Linked DNA regions of Homo sapiens: region 2 is linked to region 1. Evidence: promoter capture Hi-C in human tissues and cell types (Jung and others, 2019). All regions are on one chromosome and are shown on one strand. Each heading gives the region's core, a stretch centred on a gene start or on the middle of the fragment in contact. The rest is flanking DNA. Distances are from core to core; before and after follow the strand shown.

Region 1 (4,663 bases), core at 1,587-4,086:
TGATTAACCTTATGTAGTCATCTAACATATGGCAAAACAAGAAGTGGAGTCCAGAACAACCTGGTTTCAAAGATAATCCTCTTTTCATTAAACCATATCACCTCCAGGAGATGACAGCAGAGGATATTTAAATAATAGATGAGATAAGACTTTTAAGACTGAAATTAGAAATTTCTCAAAGAGAAAGGGAAAAAGAAAATTTATAGTGAATATTACATGAATTAAAATGATGATATCAGTTGCATTTAATGATCTGTTAATTTCAGTGAAACCTCTATACTTACTAGGAGTCCTGGTTCTGGAATAGGAGAAGGCCTTGAAAACCTTTTATTCAGTCTCCTCTTCTCTTTCTTTAGGTGTTGCATATTCTGAATACGTTTATTTGCAAGCTTTAGAAAAATTAAAATGAAAGAAAAATCATACTTTTTTGTAACATATAAAGGTAACATTCTGATTACATTTTTGGTTTGTGTCAATAAAAAAGGTAAACACCACCACTGCAAACGGTTCACATAACTACATAGAAATAGGGCGAAAAATCTCTTTCATTCAAATGTATGGTTCATAGGTGAAGAAAACCACATTGGAGCATCAGTAGGGTTTTCAAATAAGACTATTCTTGATTCTCATCTTACCACTGCATACACTTAAGTAGATCCAGACTCATGGATTAGTGTGCTTACTTTTGCTTTAAAAATAATGTTCATTAAGGACACCTAGGGAATTTTCTCTATAGAAATATGAAAACAATTATTCACTCCTTTGAAATGTTGCATGACACACATAGCTTTTTATGCCACCATTGTGTGGCGTCTACAAGTAGCAGATACCTAGGAGATCAAACTAGAATGCTTTTAAGATAATGAAATACAGTAATAGAATAGAAAGGATATGAATAACAATAACTTTTTTATCCACTTCCAGTGAAGTATCAATTGGTACAATTGCTTTGAAAACCAACTTTTTAAAAAATCCACTGATAACAGAATATAAACTTGAACAATTGCTTTGAAAACAGTGTGGCACTACTTTCTAACAATAAAAAATTTGCTTTTCCTATGATTCAACCATTACACTCCTGCCTAAATAATCAAATGGCATTCTTGTGCATGGGGCAAGAAGATGTGTACTAGAATGTTTGCAATAGTACTATTCATTTTAGGAAAATGTAAAAATAACACAATGTCCATAAACAAGAGAAAGGATTAATGAACTGTGATATGTTCCATGACAAAATATTGAACAGCAGTGAAAATAAAGAAACTATATACAGCAATGTAGATAAATCTTAGGAAATAATATTGAGAAAAAAGAGTAAATCATACACTAAATTTTGTGTGATCCTATGTTTATAAAGTTCAAAACCAAGCAAAAGCAAATAGTGCACTTATAGAGACACCTATGTAACAAACTATTAAAGAAGAGGAAGAGATTGATGTAGCTAAAATTCAAGATGGAGGTCACCTCTGGGAGAGACCTTAGGAGGTAGAATAGAAAAGCATTCCCTAGCTGGATTCAGAAATACCTAATATTTTAATCCTTAAATGGGAGGCATATTGTAATTTATAAATTATATCTGCCACATCTATTTTTGTATATGTGTCAAATGTTACATTAAAAAATAACATAAGCCATTTAGTTTACCCTAGTTAAGACCCATTCCAATAGTAGTCATTAGATCCCAGAGTCCCAAGAAATATACTGAAGTGTCTACTTAATACAAGTTCTATTATGTTAGGGACCACTACATAAAGGAACAAGTTACAAGCACAATGTTTAAACAACCAGAACCTAGTTCTTTATTTAAACATTACCTGCCGCTCAGTGACCTCTGAAGGATGATGTTGTCTTGGTCCTTCCTATATAATAAACAAAATTAAAACACATTCACACAAAAAAGTCATTAAAAACAGTAAATTAATTATTATAATAGGAAGCCTATGCTACTTTTAAATTTATGTATTATATGAATCATTTCAACTATAAGAAGCAGGTTAAAAAAACAAAAAGAAAAAAGTCAAGTTCAGAATAAAAACATCTAAGATAAAAATTGTGGTGGAAGATGGAGACGATATTATGATAAAAAAGAACCAGCTGTGAACCACCTTACAGATAAAAGGCAGAGTATAGAGATATATTCGGGAGGGAAAGAATGTACGAGAAATCGAAAAATGCATGTTTCTGCTTCTACAGGACTTCAGTGGTGCTATTGAGCAATCTAGTCTTCAATCTGGTTTCAAAGCCTAGGAGTAATTGGTGATGTGATTGAGATCGTATGGTTTTCTGAAGCACAGGGAGCTTGGCTGTTAGTTTTCGAGATTCTCACCACTTCCTCTATTTCTTGATTGTACCTTAAATAACTCCTCCTTCACTCGTTTTGATCCAATCTTTTAACCAGAAGACCCAAGAGCAATCTGTTCCACATCTGGCAATTGAGAACTTTATCCTGCTCCCTACTTCTGTAATTTCCACTCCACCTCCTAGGGCAGGCCAATGGGGCAGTCAACATACAGGTGATGTACCTGACCCCTAAGCACACAGTGGGTGGAGCTTTTTCTTGTTTCAGAGGGGTCCAGCAGTCAGGATGTAGTCTGTCTACATCACCTGGAATTTCCCAACCCCCAGCACCAAACCACATTTACAAGAGTTAGAAGCACCATGGCCAAGGCCACAGTGGCCTGGAGCTCAAGGCACAGGACAGAGTGGCAGAGTTGAGGTTGTAGGCCCCAGCAGACTCACAGGGTTGACTTGGGAAGGCTCGATGTCCCAGCAATACAGGCACATGCCGTGGAGCCTTAGGGCGCCCCCTGACGCCTACTGCCTGTCCTGGACCAAATGATTATGGGGCCCCACACCCACAGCCTTCAAGCCCTGCCCCACCCAGTTCCATCACTATTCTCTTTATTCTTCTCCCTGCTATGGGCCCCACCCTTTCCCCAGTTGTATTCCAGTCCAGTGCAGGGAAGGCAAGGCCTCAAGTTGTCTGCAGTGTCTTTGAGTTATGGAAGTCAGTTTACCATAATTCCTTATATCCTATCCTTCTTCCTCAGAAAATTGCAGAATACCAATTTCCCACCTTTTCTACCCTTCATCTCTCTAGTCTCTCTCTTTATAAAGCCCCTTTCATTTGTTAACATATCTAGCTTAGTCTCCATGTTCTCTTACTTCAGACTGTCTATCTATTGTTAGGGTTCTCAATTCCACCACCTCATTGTTGTTCCTTCACAGCTTCTAGTTGGGCTGACCCAACTGTCTGCCTTCTTCCCATCTATCTATACCAGATGAAGTGAGGAGAAGCTTGAAGATGGCTGGAATACATATTTGTGACCCCAGATCTATTTATTTATTTATTTTCTTTTTTCTTTTTTTTTTTGGCCAAGTCTCTCTGTCGCCCAGGCTGGAGTGCAGTGCTACAATCTTAGCTCACTGCTACCTCCACCTCACTGCTACCTACACCTCGAGGGTTCAAGCAATTCTCCCATCTCAGCCTCCCGAGTAGCTGGGACTGCAGGCGCATGCCACAATGCCTGGCTAATGATTTTGTAGTTTTAGTAGAGACAGGGTTTTACCATATTGGAGGCTGTTCTCAAACTCCTGACCTCAGGTGATCCACCCGTCTTGCCCTCCCAAAGTGCTGAAATTACAGGCGTGAGCCACCAGGCCCGGCCGTGACCCCCAATTTAAACTGGGTCCTCAAAGCTGCTTAAGACTTTTATGTTGCACCAGCTTTTTTTGTGCTCTGCAGTATTCCCTTCAAATTGTCTTCTATTAAAATCTCTGAATCCACCAACACTCAGGCACTTCCAGTAGAAGTGGGACAATCCGTGCTTCACACTCTGATGCTGGTGAACATGTATAGAGCTTACTATGCTCAGCACTGTTACATGAATTTATATGTGTTAACTGATCAAGTCTTTAGACCACTCAAGGTGGGTAAGGGCATGATTATAATCACTGGGAAACAAGGCGCTAGCATGTTAAATTGCTTTCTTGAAGTTACGCTATTAGTAAGAGGGTGAGCTGGAATTTAAATCCAGGGTTGGCCCTTAGATCATGTGCTCCTAATTATGTGCTATGCTACCATTGCTTTTGAAGCCCTCACTGGGGCTACCTCAATACCACCTAAAATCCTATAACCTTGTCAATATCCACATTATCCTTTTCCCTGTAACCCTGTCGAAATGGAAAAAAAAATTGGTATCCCTTCTGTTGCCTCAAATAAATCTATCCATTTGCATTTGCATGCCATTTCCCTCCTAGGAGCCTCCTCAGATCTAGCTCTACAGATTGTTCCTCTCCTTGTTAACTTCTCTATATTGCCTCTTTCCTTTAAACATTTCATTACTGTAAGTTCAAATCTCCCCCTCTCCAAACTAATAAAGGAAACTCCTTAGAACAACAACCAATTGTATCTATTGCCCATCCCCTCTATATAAAGTAAATATTCATGAGAGTGGTCTGTACCTCTGCCTCTTCTTTATGTTCAGTGTAAGATTTGGCTTACTGAAACCTGTTTCAACTCCCACTGTTCCACTGGTGCTTTTCTCAAAATGGTTAATCAAATGATCTTTCTCCTGAATTCAATGGACAGTTTCTATCATATGATTTTTGTATCACGTTAGAAACTGCTGAAAAGTCTTTCTGATGAGTTAGGCTTAGAAAA
Region 2 (4,663 bases), core at 927-3,426, 700 kb after region 1:
TCTCACGTGTTTCACTCTGCTTATGGCAGTTAGTCACACACTTAAAACAGCTAAGCCTCACACAGGAATTGCAAACCTCTTCTGTTTTTAATGGAGTTTTTAAATTCTAATTTTCTTTCATTTATTTACTACATAATAATTTAATAAGTGTATACTATGTTTCAGAAAGGGTTCCAAGGTTTGAGGATATAGTATATATATAGCCCTACATTTCTATTTTCATGGAGCTTACAATGTTTTAACAGGGCGGAGAGCACTGTCCCAGAACCCTGACAGCCATGCCCTGCACAACTCCAGGGAATGCTCTTCATATAAACTACAGCATAGATGGTGCCCTCTGGAGGTAGATAATGTGGCAAATTTAGTAACTTCAGACCAACAATAAAATAACTAAATGATATCCAGTTGATTAATTCATTCTATAAATATTATTGTTTACTGTTTACTGATATTCATTCTAGTTACTTGGAATAGCTCAATGAATAAAATAGGAATTTTTCAGTTTCATCAATTTTATAATTCATTAAGGTCTTTTTCTTTCTGACTGAACTATACCCTTTAGCATTTTTTATAGGGCAGTTCTGGTATTGATGAAACCTCTTAGCTTCTTTTTGTCTGGGAAAGCCTCTAGTTCTCCTTCAAGTTTGAAGAATATTTTTGCTGGATATATCATTATGGGATAAAAGTTATTTTATTTCAGTACTTTAAGTATGTCATGGCACTCTCTTCTGGCCTGTAAGGTTTCCACTGAAGTTTGTTACCAGACATATTGGAACTCCATTGAATGTTATTTGTTTCTTTTCTCTTGCTGGTTTTAGGATCCTTTCTTTATCCTTGACCTTTGGGAATTTGATTGTTAAGCCTTGAGGTAGTGTCCTCTGGGTTAAATGTTTGGTATTTTATGGCCTTATACTTGGATATTGATATCTTTCTCTAGGTTTGGAAAATTCTAGTCATTATCCCTTTGAGTAAACTTTCTACCCCTATCACATTCTCTACCTCCTCTTTAAGGCCAATAACTCTTATATTTGCCCTTTTGAGGCTATTTTCTAGATGCCATAAGCATGTTTCATTGCTTTTTACTCTTCTTACTTTTGTCTCCTCTGACTGTGCATTTTCAAAGAGCCTGCCTTCAAGTCCACTAATTGTTTCTTCTACTTGATTAATTCCATTACTGAAAGACTCTGATGCATTCTTCAGTATGCTTGTTGCATTTTTAGGTCCAGAATTTCTGCTTGATTCTTTTTAATTGTTTCATTCTCTTTGTTAAATTTATCTGATAGAATTCTGAATTTCCTCTCTGTATTATCTTGAATTTCTTTGAGTTTCCCCAAGACAGCTATTTTGAATTCTCTGTCTGAAAGGTCACATATTTCTGTTCCTTCAGGCTTTGTCCCTGGTGACTCATTTAGTTCATTTAATGAGATCATGTTTTCCTGGATTGTCTTGATAGTTGCAGATGTTCATCCGTGTCTTGGCATTAAAGAGTTAGGTATTTATAGTGGTCTTTGCAGTCTAGGCTTGTTTGTGTTCATCTTTCTTGGGGAGGCTTTCCAGATATTCTACATATTAAAAATTTGGGTCTTGTGATCTAAGCTGTAACTGCTTTAGGGAGCACCCCAATCCAAGTAACTCTGTGGTTCTTGCAGATTCATAGAGGTACCACCTTGACAGTCTTGGACAAGATCCAGGAGAATTCTCTGGATTACCAGGCAGAGACTTTTGTTCTCTTCCCTTACTTTCTCCCAAAGAAATTGAGTCTTTCTCTTTTCTCTAAGCCACCTGAACCTGGTGGTGGGGAGACATAAGCACCCTGGCAGCCACCACCAGTATTACTTCACTGGATCAGACCTGAAGCCAGCACAGCACTGAGTCTCACACAAGGCTTGCTCTAACTACTCCCTGGCTACTGTTTATGTTTGCTCAAGGCCTTGGGATTCTACAGTTAGCAGATGGCAAAGCCAGGTAGGTCTATGTCCTTCCTTTCAGTGTAGTGACTTCTTCCAGGCCCAGGCAGGTCTAGAGGTGCTTTCCAGGCACCAGAGACTAGATTTAAAACCTTAGAAGTCTACCATGGTGTCCTAGTATATTGTAGTTGAGCTGGCACTCAAAGCACTAGACAAAGTTCTTTTCATTCTTCCCTTTCTTCACCAAAGGCAGGGGAACCTCACTCTGTGGCCACTGCCACCACAGGCCCATGAGAAGTACTGTTAAACTACTGCCAATGTTCCCTTAAAGCACAAGGGCTCTTCAGTCAGTTTGTGGTGAATGCTGCCTGGCCTGGGACTCACCCTTTAGGGCACTGGGCTCCCTTCTGGCCCAGGGAAGGTCTAGAAATGCTGTCTAAGAGCCATGTCCTAGATTCTGAAAACCCAAGAGCCTGCTTTGTGCTCTACCTCCTTCTGACTGAGCCGGGACTTGAAGCCAGCAAGTCTCAAACTCTTACCAAAAGCTGATAACATAGTACCTGGGTATTGTTTCTGGTTATTCATAGCCTGAGGGCTCTTCAGTTAGCAAGTGAGGAATGCTGCTAGGACTGGGTTCTTTCCTTCAAAGTGGCAGCTTCCTTCTGGCCCAAAGTGTGTCTGGTATTGTTATTCAGGAGCTAGGGCCTGGAAATGGGGACTCAGAACTCTGAATGGAGCCCTATCTGGTTGTGGCTGAGCTGGTATCAAAGGCACGAGATAAAGTCCTCCTCACCCTTCTGTCTCTGCTGCTTAGGTCAAAGGAAGTGGTCTCTTTTGGAGCTGCAAATTGTGCTGCCTGGGGCTGGGGGAGGGATGATGCAAGCACTCCCTTAGCTGCCCCAGCTGGTGTCTCAGTGGGTCACATACTCCCTATTTCACTGTCTCTGGGTCCAGTTCCACACTAGAACTCATCTAGAAGTTACAGTCCTTGTGGCCTAGACTGCCTTTGGAGTTTATTTAGCGCCCTGGAACACTTTAGCCCATCATCATGGCAAGGCTTGCAGGAGCTATGAAGGTGTGCTTTTTTTGGTAGATAGTTTTTAAATTGGTGTCCTTGTTTGTGGGGACGGGTGGAGATGATCAGTGGAGGTTTCTCTTCCACTATCTTGCTCTACCTCCTAAATGTCATTTTAAAAACAGGTATTTGGTGAGTATCTTCAATTGCCATGCATATTTCTAGAAACCCTGGAACATGTCAAGAGAAATAAAGCATAGCTCTTTAACTTACAGAACTATGGTTGTATAGGAAATAAAACTGTTGAATATGCAACAAATAAGCTTATGAGGAATGCAGTAAAATATATCATTATATAATATTAGATAACTTCAAATAAAAATATTAGTTGAGACTAAAACTTTGGGTAAAATTCAATAAATGGGATTGCCTTGGGGTATAGCTAAAAGTATCAGGAAAATTTTAGTGAGTGTATATGGAGTTCTGCTATCTTGAATCACTAAGCACATGGAAAAGAAAAATAACATAAATATTAACATAAATTAAAAACCAAAAGTTAACAATTATCTCAAATACACAATTTGTATTTTTTGTTTTCCATTATCCCACCCAAACTTTATTAGTTTTTTATCCCCATTTTCTAGCATGAACAATGCCACTGCTATCTACCCGCTACTACCAATTCATAGAAATATGTGTGGCAATTGAAGGCATTTATCAAATATTTGTTTTAAAAATAACATCTGGAGACTTTTGAAATTATGAGAATCTTACTAATAAGCATCCTCTTGAAAAAGAATTTCATTATACCTATATATTACTTTTTTATTTTTAATAGTAAACTTTAGCTTTAAACTATATCCGAAACCACTATATTTGTTACTGTAAAATATGCTGGCCTAGCATCCATGTTTTTCCCTGAATAGCCTGTTGTCTATTCTTTTTTAAAGCACCTTCCTTATCCTCTCACTTAAATGATGACATTACCATCTACCCAGTTGTCCTCACTAGAAATATAAGCCTCGTACTCAATTCCTCATTTTCTTGCACCATTACTCATAACTCTTGTGAGTGTCTCCATCATGATTTCATACACTGGCCTTTCATTCAGTAAATTTTGGGTACAATATATGGCTAGTACCTTATCTGGGAGCCTAGAATTCCAAAGGAAATAACACAACAGACAAGGCCTTCATCCTCTAATCTTAGGAACACTGCCTCAATTTTGGCCCTCATCATCTTTCCTACTAATGTGTTTATTTGATGTCCTTTTCTCTGCTCTCTCTATCATAAAAATCTCTCCTACTAATATCAAAGTAATGGTGATCTATACAAAATATATATGTAAAAAATCATATATATACATATGATTTTATTAAAGATTTATTTTTTGGTTCCACATGAAAGAAACTCAATTTATACTAAAAATATCAAGTGTATTCTGGATTTTGGAGTGATGAATTCAGTCGCTACTAAGTCTTTCTCCAGCTTTTGGTTATGTTCACTGATCCATATACTAAATTCTCAGTGGAAAGCCCTAAGTTATTTTTATTTGCCTCTCAACCAATCACCATTGTCACCTGAGTGTAATATTTGGGCTTACAGGTATAGTTCACTTGCCTACTCTTGGATCAAAAATCCACAGATATCTTCTCCTGAACCATATCTCTAAAGGATAAGTGTAGTGCAATTATTATGCGAAAAAAGCAGAGTAGGGGACAGATGTTGGGTAAGCAAAATC

Evidence for each region. The method cuts DNA at HindIII sites, captures the fragments that hold promoters and counts their contacts. A contact is called where the count stands out against the background at its distance.
Region 2: a fragment that was not itself captured here is called in contact with the fragment with the promoter of CCDC179 in region 1 in 1 of the 25 tissues and cell types used here (mesendoderm cells).

Annotation. Positions count from the first base shown.
Region 1 is chr11:22,857,638-22,862,300 of GRCh38, forward strand. It overlaps CCDC179 (coiled-coil domain containing 179), which reads right to left and starts at 2,837. Exons shown (of 4, transcript NM_001195637.2): 1 at 2,740-2,837; 2 at 1,815-1,859; 3 at 285-389. The coding sequence starts at 2,784. The region is part of intron 3 of LINC02718 (long intergenic non-protein coding RNA 2718); the gene reads left to right. The HindIII fragment of the contact is 9,229 bases long and covers 1-4,663 here.
Region 2 is chr11:23,553,876-23,558,538 of GRCh38, forward strand. No RefSeq gene overlaps it. Among named protein-coding and RNA genes, the nearest start is that of MIR8054, 140 kb to the left of the region's middle. The HindIII fragment of the contact is 3,682 bases long and covers 336-4,017 here.